2 separate regions of the Homo sapiens genome follow, and region 2 is linked to region 1. Evidence: promoter capture Hi-C in human tissues and cell types (Jung and others, 2019). All regions are on one chromosome and are shown on one strand. The core of a region is centred on a gene start or on the middle of the fragment in contact, and the rest is flanking DNA. Distances in the headings are between cores, read along the strand shown.

Region 1 (4,222 bases), core at 1,191-3,690:
CCCATCACAGGGCCATTCTGAGGACAGGTGGAAGCCAGAAAGTTCCCAGAGCAGAGATGAGGGGACGCCATCCTGGGGGCACAGTAACCACAGCCAGGAAGGCATCCATCAGCCCACTTGACTGATGGGGACACTGATGCTCAGAGAGGTTAAGTCACTTGCCCCAGTTCACACAGCAGATGACTAGCTGGGCTGGGATCAGAACCAGGCTGTTTGGCTTCAAAGTCTGGGCTCTTAACTCTATGAAAACCCACCCCCAGCCAAAACTGGTCTTTTCCAAAACACTGTCTGTCTCAGTGAAGCCTCAGCTGGCATCAGGCGGGGGGATGACGCCGAGACATACTATATTCTCACTCCCTCTCTCCCTGCAGGCAGCGGAGCGGAAAGGGGGCAGGCACCTCCCAGGATTCTCCCCTAACCCTGCCAGCCACCTCTGAGCAAGTGCACCTGTGGATTCACCACTTCTCCCTTGAGCCTCTCTCCCAGGGCCTGCCTGAAAGATGAAGGGGTCACACGGGCACAGGCAGCAGGACAAGAGTCTGGACGTGTCCTCCCGGTGTATGCCCCAGAGCCTGTTTCACTGCACTGCCCCTCCTCCACACCCCCATGCCTCCTCCATCAGTGCACACTCAGCCTCTTTGGACACGCACATTGCCATCACTGGCTTCCAGCTGCCACTCTGAGAGTCCGGGAGCTTGGCAAAGCCAACCCCACCACCCTTGGCAGCTCAGGTGGTAGAAGGTAGGCAGGCATCCACTTCTGGCAGGCCAACTCTGCCTCTCACCAGCCCGGCAGCCCTGGGCAAATGACTTGGCTTCCTGGGGCTCAGGTTATTCCTCTGTTAATGGTAAGACATAAACCCCCTGTGTGGCCCTGGGTTTCCAATAAGTCTGGAGGCTGACCCAGCTCTTGACCCGCAGCAAACCTGAACACATGCTGGGTTCTTTTCTTCGTGGCACTTTATCTTGGCAGTCGTGGGGCTGCCTAGAGCAGCCTGGTGAGGCTGGACTGGAATGCAGGCGCAGGTCTTGCAGGGACCCCATCTTGTCTCTGACACCACAGGAGGCTTGATTCACTGGCTCCTGACCTGGCTGCTCCCTCCCAGCCTGGCTTCCCACCTTCCATGAGGTCTTGGACAACATCCCCTGTCATCCTCCTGGTGCTGGGGACAAGGGGAGGGGAGGGCACAGAGAGGCCTCCAGAGCTGCCTTCCGGGCCCTCCAAGACAGCTAAGTTACAGGAAACCCCTCCTGGGAAGGGAATCATCCAGGAAACTCACTCTGCACCAACCCAGAAAAAGCTCAAGAACTCTGGATAACGAAGGAGCTTCTTAATCTTCCTTCCCCACCTCCAGGTAATGCAGGCTGCAGCCAGCTCCAGAAGAGGGACAGGAGTGTTTGTGGTAGTTGACTCGTCTTCCCTGAGCCCCCGTTTCCTCCTATTTAAATGGGCTATTACTCTAGCTCTTTAAATGCAAAGCCTGTGGCACCAAAACTAGCACATAGTAGAAGCTCAATAAATCTTTCTTTCCTGGGATTAAGTCAAGGGTATAGCACTCAGTTTGACACATACAGTAGGTGCTCAACGAATTTAATTCTCTCTAGGTATGCAAAGTTGCCAGACGATCCCGGCACATAGTAGGTGCTCAATCAATTTCACTTTCTCTGGTCATCTAAGGAATCACTGAGCTTTCCTCCTCCAAGCCTCTACCCTTTCTTCCCGGCTGCTCCACTTCCCCCAGATGCCCAGCTCTGTTGGGGCGTCTCCTACCTGGGAATGGCGGGCCGGGCCTCTGGCACGGCTCAGAGAGCTGCCTGGAAGCGCCGGGAGCTGCGGGGAGCTGCCTGCTGCTCCAGCCGCCGAGCCTCCCAGAGTCTGTGGTGGCTCCCGGGTCACTGCGCGGGGATCCTCCCCTGCGCTGCTCGGGACGCCGGGCTGGGCGCGGCCGGGCAAGGAGGCGCAAGGGGCAGGTGCCCCATGGGTGGGCTCCGAGGGCTCGGCGGGGCCCGGGCAGGGGGCGGGCTCCGGCTCGCCGCCGCCGGCCCTGCCCTGCCCCGAGCCGGGGGCCTCCTGCTGAGCCAGGTGCCCGGAGGCTTGGGGACGTCCGATCCGGGGGTCCCCGCCTGGGGCTCTCGGGCTGGGGGCAGAGAGGTAGGGGCGACTCCAGTGATGAAGGAGCAGCTCCTAGAGACTTGGGGAGGGGGGGTCCTTTGGAGGTGACTGTGGGTGCGTGTCCCAGGTGGGCGAACCCTCCTGGTCGCCTATGCCACCTTCTCCGCCTGCCCCAAAGGGGGTCGCTCGGATGGGGGGTATCGGGCTGCCGGGCTCGGCCGCGGCCTCCTTCTCTGCCCGCGGCTCTGCAGCTCTCCCAGCGCCGGAGGGACGGCTTCTTTCTCCCCGCGCGGCGACGCCAGCAGCTGAAGGAGGAGCAGGGCGCTCTGCTCTGCGCGCGTGTGGGAGGGGGCCTTGAACGCCGCCCCAAGGTTTCGCAGCTCCAAGTTAGCATCAACCCGGCTCCTCCTCCTTCACCTCCTCCTGTCCCCAGATGAGGAGAACTTTGTGTGTGGCCCTGGGTTCTCCCTCCTTCCCCCTCTCGCAGGCAGATGCCCCACTGTCACCCGCAGGGCGAAGAGGTCGCTGATCCCTCCGAAAGGTGGCAGAACCCCAGGCTCCTGATGACGGTCCCAGCGGCACCCTCCCGCGCCCCTGCGAGCGTCGCCCACCTGCTCCTTCGGCCCCCCGCGAGCCGCGCCTCCCGCCGCCCAGCGCCAGCGTCTGCCCCCCAGAGCCCGCTCGCCCCGCCCCACCCCGGCGCCCCGCCTCGCCCCGGCGCCCGGCCAATGGGAGGCGGGTCCCGCGGCCCGGCCCCGCCCATCCCTTTCGCGGCCTCCGGGGCGCCGCGGTCTGCGGTTCCGCGTGTCCGGGCGCGTGGGGCCGGGGCCGCTGGGCGCGCGCACCTTGCCCAGAAGGCGGCCCGGGCCTCGGAGGCTGACGTCTGCGCACGCGCTCACACGCACGCCCGGCCTGGCCGCAGGTGACCCGCATGGGGTCCGGCCGCCTGCCCACTCGGCCGGGGTCTCCAGCGGCTTGCGCCCGGCCAGGTCGAGCGCGCCACGGTTCCAGCGCCCTCCTCCTTCGCGGAAGTCCCCGGGTGCCCTCCCAGGTGTCCAACCTGCCTGTCCCAGCCGCCGCCTCCCTCCCGAGCTCACGGTGCCCACGGGACCCTGCGGACTGGCACATGGGCCATGCACGTGTCGCCCAGAGGGGCGGGGAGTCACCTAGGCTTAGTAGCCAGAGGTCTTCGAGGCATGCGAGTCTCAGAGACCACGGCCGACGGGGACACACCAGGTGCCTTGAGCATTGCGTCTCCTGCCTGCATTCTCCCTCCCCACCTTTAAATGAGGGGCTTGACCTAGGCCAGACATCGGGCCTTCTCACTGGGCCATATCTCCACACCACTTATTACTTAATATATTTTTTAAAATATCAGATCCACTTTCCCCACCCCTTAAACACGTTTTTTTAGAGAATCATTATATCACTGCCTTAAATGGGAAATCAGTATCACTTGCCATAAATAGAAAGTAAGAGTTAAAATAAGCACAGTGAAAACAAAGCAAGGTTATTAAATTCCAGCTGGAAACCGTGGCCTGCCAAGGCTTGAGATGTGTGCCCTCAGTGAAAAAGGGAGATTGGCAAGGTTTGGAGAGGTGTTAAATACCCATTAGCACCTAACAGAGACTTTCTCCTTCACATATCAGGAGGCTTAAAAGAGAATGTTCTCGTTGTGTGATACAGCAAAGGGATGGGATGCTGTGTCTGTGTCCCTCAGTTCCAGATCCCTGGACCTCAGGGATGTCTGCCAGCCTCACCCCCAACCCAGATCTGGCCTCCCTACCTCATGAGAGGACGCAGGGGTCTGGGAGGGCACCTGAGGGGTCAGCTCCATTGGCTGAGAGACTGGCGTTCAAGTCCTGTCTCCGTAACTACCTAGATATCTGACCCTGGGCCGTCATGAAAAGTCTCTGGGTCCTGGTTGTGCCATCTCTAAAATGGGTATGATATTGATGGGTCCACAGAATGACAGAAGTACTAAAATGGCCTGGGACTTTGAATATGGAAAGTGACTTGCTTTGCTTGTCTCTGTAACATCTTGAGATTCTCCAGGAAAGTTAACCAGAGAGGATGGGGCAGGTGGGGGTGGAGGGTGCAGTACCTGTAC
Region 2 (4,222 bases), core at 712-3,211, 75 kb after region 1:
TCCTCCTCCCAGTGCTCTCAGCCAGAAGGAAGGAGCAGGCAGATGGCACAGCCCCAGCCCTGCCTACAGCCCCCAGACGCGGAGCCCGACCCTGCCCTCCTTCTGCCAGGGGAAGGAAGTCCACTTCTTAAGCCTGGCATCCAGGGATGCTGAGGGGCTGAGATTAGAGAATTTCGGGGGGGTGATGGAACTGCTCCGTGTCTTGATTGTGGCAGTGTTTGCGTGACTTTGTTTTTCAAAACTTGTAAAACTGTGCACTGAAAAGAGGCAAATCACACCTCAAAAAAACCTAAAAGTCATATTTATAAATATAAATAAGCATAAGACTTGAAAAAAAGGAGATGGGGAAACTCTCCAGGACGTTGTTCTGGGCGGATTTCTTGAAAAATACCTCACAAGCACAGGCAACCAAAGCAAAAATGGACAAATGGGATCCCATCAAGTTAAAAAGCTTCTGCACAGCAAAGGAAACAATCAGCAAGGCGAAGAGACAGCCCACAGAAGGGGAGAAAATATTTGCAAACTATACATCTGACAAGGGATTAATAATCGAATAGATAAGGAACTCAAACAACCCTATAGGAAAAATCCTAATAACCCAGTTTTAAAATGGGCAAAAGGCTGGGCACAGTGGCTCACGCCTGTAATCCTAGCACTTTGGGAGGCCAAGGCGGGCAGAACACAAGGGCAGGAGATAGAGGCCACCCTGGCCAACACGGTGAAACCCTGTCTCTCCTAAAAATACAAAAATTAGCTGGGCATGGTGGCGCACGCCTGTAATCCCAGCTACTTGGGAGGCTGAGGCAGGAGAGTCGCTTGAACCAGGGAGTTGGAGGTTGCAGTGAGCCGAGATCGTGCCACTGCACTCCAGCCTGGCGACAGAGGGAGACTCCGTCTCAAAAAAAAAAAAAAAAAAAAAGAATGAAATCCTGTCATTTGCAACAACATGGATGAAACTGGAGGTCATTATGTTAAGTGAAGCAAGCCGGGCACAGAAAGACGAACTTCACATGTTCTCACTTATTTGTGGGAGCTAAAAATTAAAACAATTGAACCATGGAGATAGAGAGTAGAATGATGGTTATACGCTGGGAAGGGTAGTTGGGGGGCAGGGGAAAGTAGGGATGGTTAATGGGTCCAAAAATATAGTAGAAAGAATGAATAAGGCCAGGCATGGTGGCTCACACCTATAATAGCAACACTTTGGGAGGCTGAGGCAGGAGGAATTTGTGAACCCAGGAGTTCAACACCAGCCTGGGAAACATAGTAAGACCCTGTCTCTGTAAAAAATAAACAAAATTAGCCGGACATGGTGGTGCACACCTATAGTCCCAGCTACTTGGGAGGCTGAAGTGGGAGGATTGCTTGGGCCCAGGAGGTCAAGGCTGCAGTGAGCCATGATCACAGCACTGTACTCCAGCCTACGTGACAGAACAAGACCCTGTCTCAGAAAAAAAGGAATGAATAAGATCTAGTATTTGATAGCACAGCAGGGTAATTATAGCCAATAATAATTTAATTGTACATTTCAAAATAACTAACAGTATAATTGGGTTGTTTGTAACACAAAGGATAAATGCTTGAGGTAATGGATATCTCATCTACCCAGTAAATATATACACCTACTATGTACCCATAAAAATTTTTTAATTTTTTTCAATAAATAATTTAAAAAGAAAGAGCGGCCAGATGGATGGCTCATGCCTGTAATCCCAGCACTTTGGGAAGCCGAGGCAGGAGGATCACTTGAGCCCAGAAGTTTGAGACCAGCCTGGGAAACATAGCAAGAACTTGTCCCTATAAAAATAAATATATTTTTAAATTAGCCAGGCATGACTTTGGGAGGCTGAGATGGATGGATCACTTGAGGTTGGGAGTTTGAGACCAGCCTGGCCAACACAGTGAAACCTCATCTCTACAAAAAATACAAAAATTAACCTGGCATGGTGGTGTGCGCCTGTAATCCTCAGCTACTTGGGAGGCTGAGGCAGAAGAATCACTTGAACCCGGGAGGTGGAGGTTGCAGTGAGCTGAGATCGCGCCACTGCACTCCAGCCTGGACATCAGAGCGAGACTCCATCTCAAAAACAAACAAACAAAAAAACTAGCCAGATGTGGTGGCACATGTCTGTAGGCCCAGCTACTGGAATCTGTAGTCCTAGGATCACTTGAGCCCAGGAGTTCAAGGTCGCAGTGAGCTACGATGGTCCCACTGCACTCTACCCTGGGCAACAGAGCAAGACCTTGTCTCAAATAAATAAATAAAAATAAAAGGAGAAAGACCTAACACACTGAGGAGGCCGAGAGGAGCCCTGGCCACCTCGGCACTCATAGGCCCAGAAGGTCAAACACCAGCCCTGGGCTCCTGGCCACAGCCCTGCAGTGCTACTCAGGACCGCAGGGAGGACACTGAACCATAGGAATTTGAACACCTGAAGCCAGTGTTCAAAGAGGCAGCAAGACCAGGCCCCAGAATGCACGGATGCTGGCCCCAGCCACGGCCCCTGTGAAAGCTGCAGGCCCTGGCATTCACCCCAGGCAGCTGGGGAGCAGGCTTCCCAGGACAGCCTGTCCACTGTCGATTGCCTCATCCAACCCAGCCACGCATCCAAATACTCCTAGGACCCAGTCCCTTTGCCCTGCAACCAGACATCCCTCTCATCTGCTTGGGACTCTCCACCTCACTGAGCCTTTGTCATGTGTGAGGTCCCAGCTGGGTTTCTTTTCATCCCAGATAAGAGGAAAGTGGGGTCTAGAAAGGCTGAGTACCTGCCCACAGTCCCCCAGCTGATACAGAAATAAGACCGAGGCCAAGCTCCTGACCGCCATTATCCCATTAATCTTCACATCAACCTTGACGGAAACACTGTGAGTGGTCTTATTTTATAGATGAGAAAAATGACACACAGAGAGGGTAAGTTGCCCAAAGTCACACGGTAGTAAAAGGCAGAGTTGGGACTCAAACCCAGGAGACTGGCTCCAGGATACCACTCTCAGCCACTATCCTCTTATCCCCCTGAAGAGGGCAAGCTGCCACTACCTCATGCCACTGCCTAAAGAGTGTGCTTGGAGACTTTTACTGTCCTTGGTGGTCCACTGTTACCCCAGGCACCATTCTGCTAATAGTTGAGTTGGCAGAGTGGAGTAGTTGAGGCAGTCCGTGGAAGAGTGTGACTCTCCAGTGTAACCCCAGCTACAAGGGCCTCGCTTGGTTTTGCCACAGCTGAGTGAGTTTAGGAAGTTACTTCACAGCCCTGTGCCTCCAGGGGCCACACCTGTTTAAGGGATGCTGGCAGCAGCCCTACCTCTAATTAGTCATAGGTATCCAGGGCACATAACTGCACCTGGTACAGGGCAAACCTCCCCCGCAGAAGTGTTAACCAGTGTTGTCCTCACTGGCATCATCATTACTGTGTGAGGGTGGGAACAAAATACAAAACAATATGGTCTCCCTACTGCCAGAATCCAAAATAATGATCACTCAACTTCCAGGTCTCAGCAATAGCTTCCTGCCACACATGGGGCAGCTGCTCTTGTCTTGTCAACTTGATCCCAACCAAGGGACAGGGCCTCACAGCTAGACCCTGGGCCTTGCCTTCTGCAATGACCATCAAGCATCTTTCTTGGAGCCCCTTCTTTGTCCTCTGTCTGTCCCTCTATTTCCTCTGCTGTTGAAAGGGTTGGGGCAGGAGAGCACTGGAAGATTTCAGACACTGCAGGTAGGGAAGGGGAGATGGTGAGACCAGCACCGAGATCTGGTCCCAGGGTGGACTTCCCCAAAGACAGCCAGACTTGCTGTTCTACCACTTGGTGTGCTAAAATAGAGTCTGTCTTCTTCTTGACCTAGAGCACTATTACAAAAGGCTACCTTCACCGGAGCAGGACACTGTCCTATAGCATTTTGTTTAAAGCAATTATTTAATTGTTGTCTTCCAGATGGATGAGAAGAGGGCCTGTGTTTCTCTTATTCATGGCTGTGCCTTCAGGGCCTGGCACACAGCAAAAGTGAGGATAGATGAATGGATGGATGGATGAGTAAGTAAGTAGATGAATGGGTGGATGAATGGATGGGTGGATGAGCAGATGAATGGATGGATGGATGGCTGGATGGATGAGTGGATGAATGGGTAGATGGATGGATGAGTGAATGGATGGGTGGATGGGTGGATGGATAGATAACTGAGTGGGCAAATGGATAGATGGGTGGATGGGTGGATGGATG

What was found. Contacts are between HindIII fragments. The study calls those that stand out against the background at their distance.
Region 2: a contact is called between a fragment that was not itself captured here and the fragment with the promoter of RASD2 in region 1, in 2 of the 25 tissues and cell types used here (adrenal gland and dorsolateral prefrontal cortex).

The regions. Positions count from the first base shown.
Region 1 is chr22:35,539,049-35,543,270 of GRCh38, reverse strand. RASD2 (RASD family member 2) reads right to left here and starts at 2,440. Exons shown (of 3, transcript NM_014310.4): 1 at 1,771-2,440. RefSeq lists enhancers at 2,090-2,652, 2,653-3,215, 3,216-3,778 and a silencer at 2,749-2,968. The HindIII fragment of the contact is 17,894 bases long and covers 1-4,222 here.
Region 2 is chr22:35,463,665-35,467,886 of GRCh38, reverse strand. No RefSeq gene overlaps it. Among named protein-coding and RNA genes, the nearest start is that of MCM5, 66 kb to the right of the region's middle. The HindIII fragment of the contact is 6,473 bases long and covers 1-4,222 here.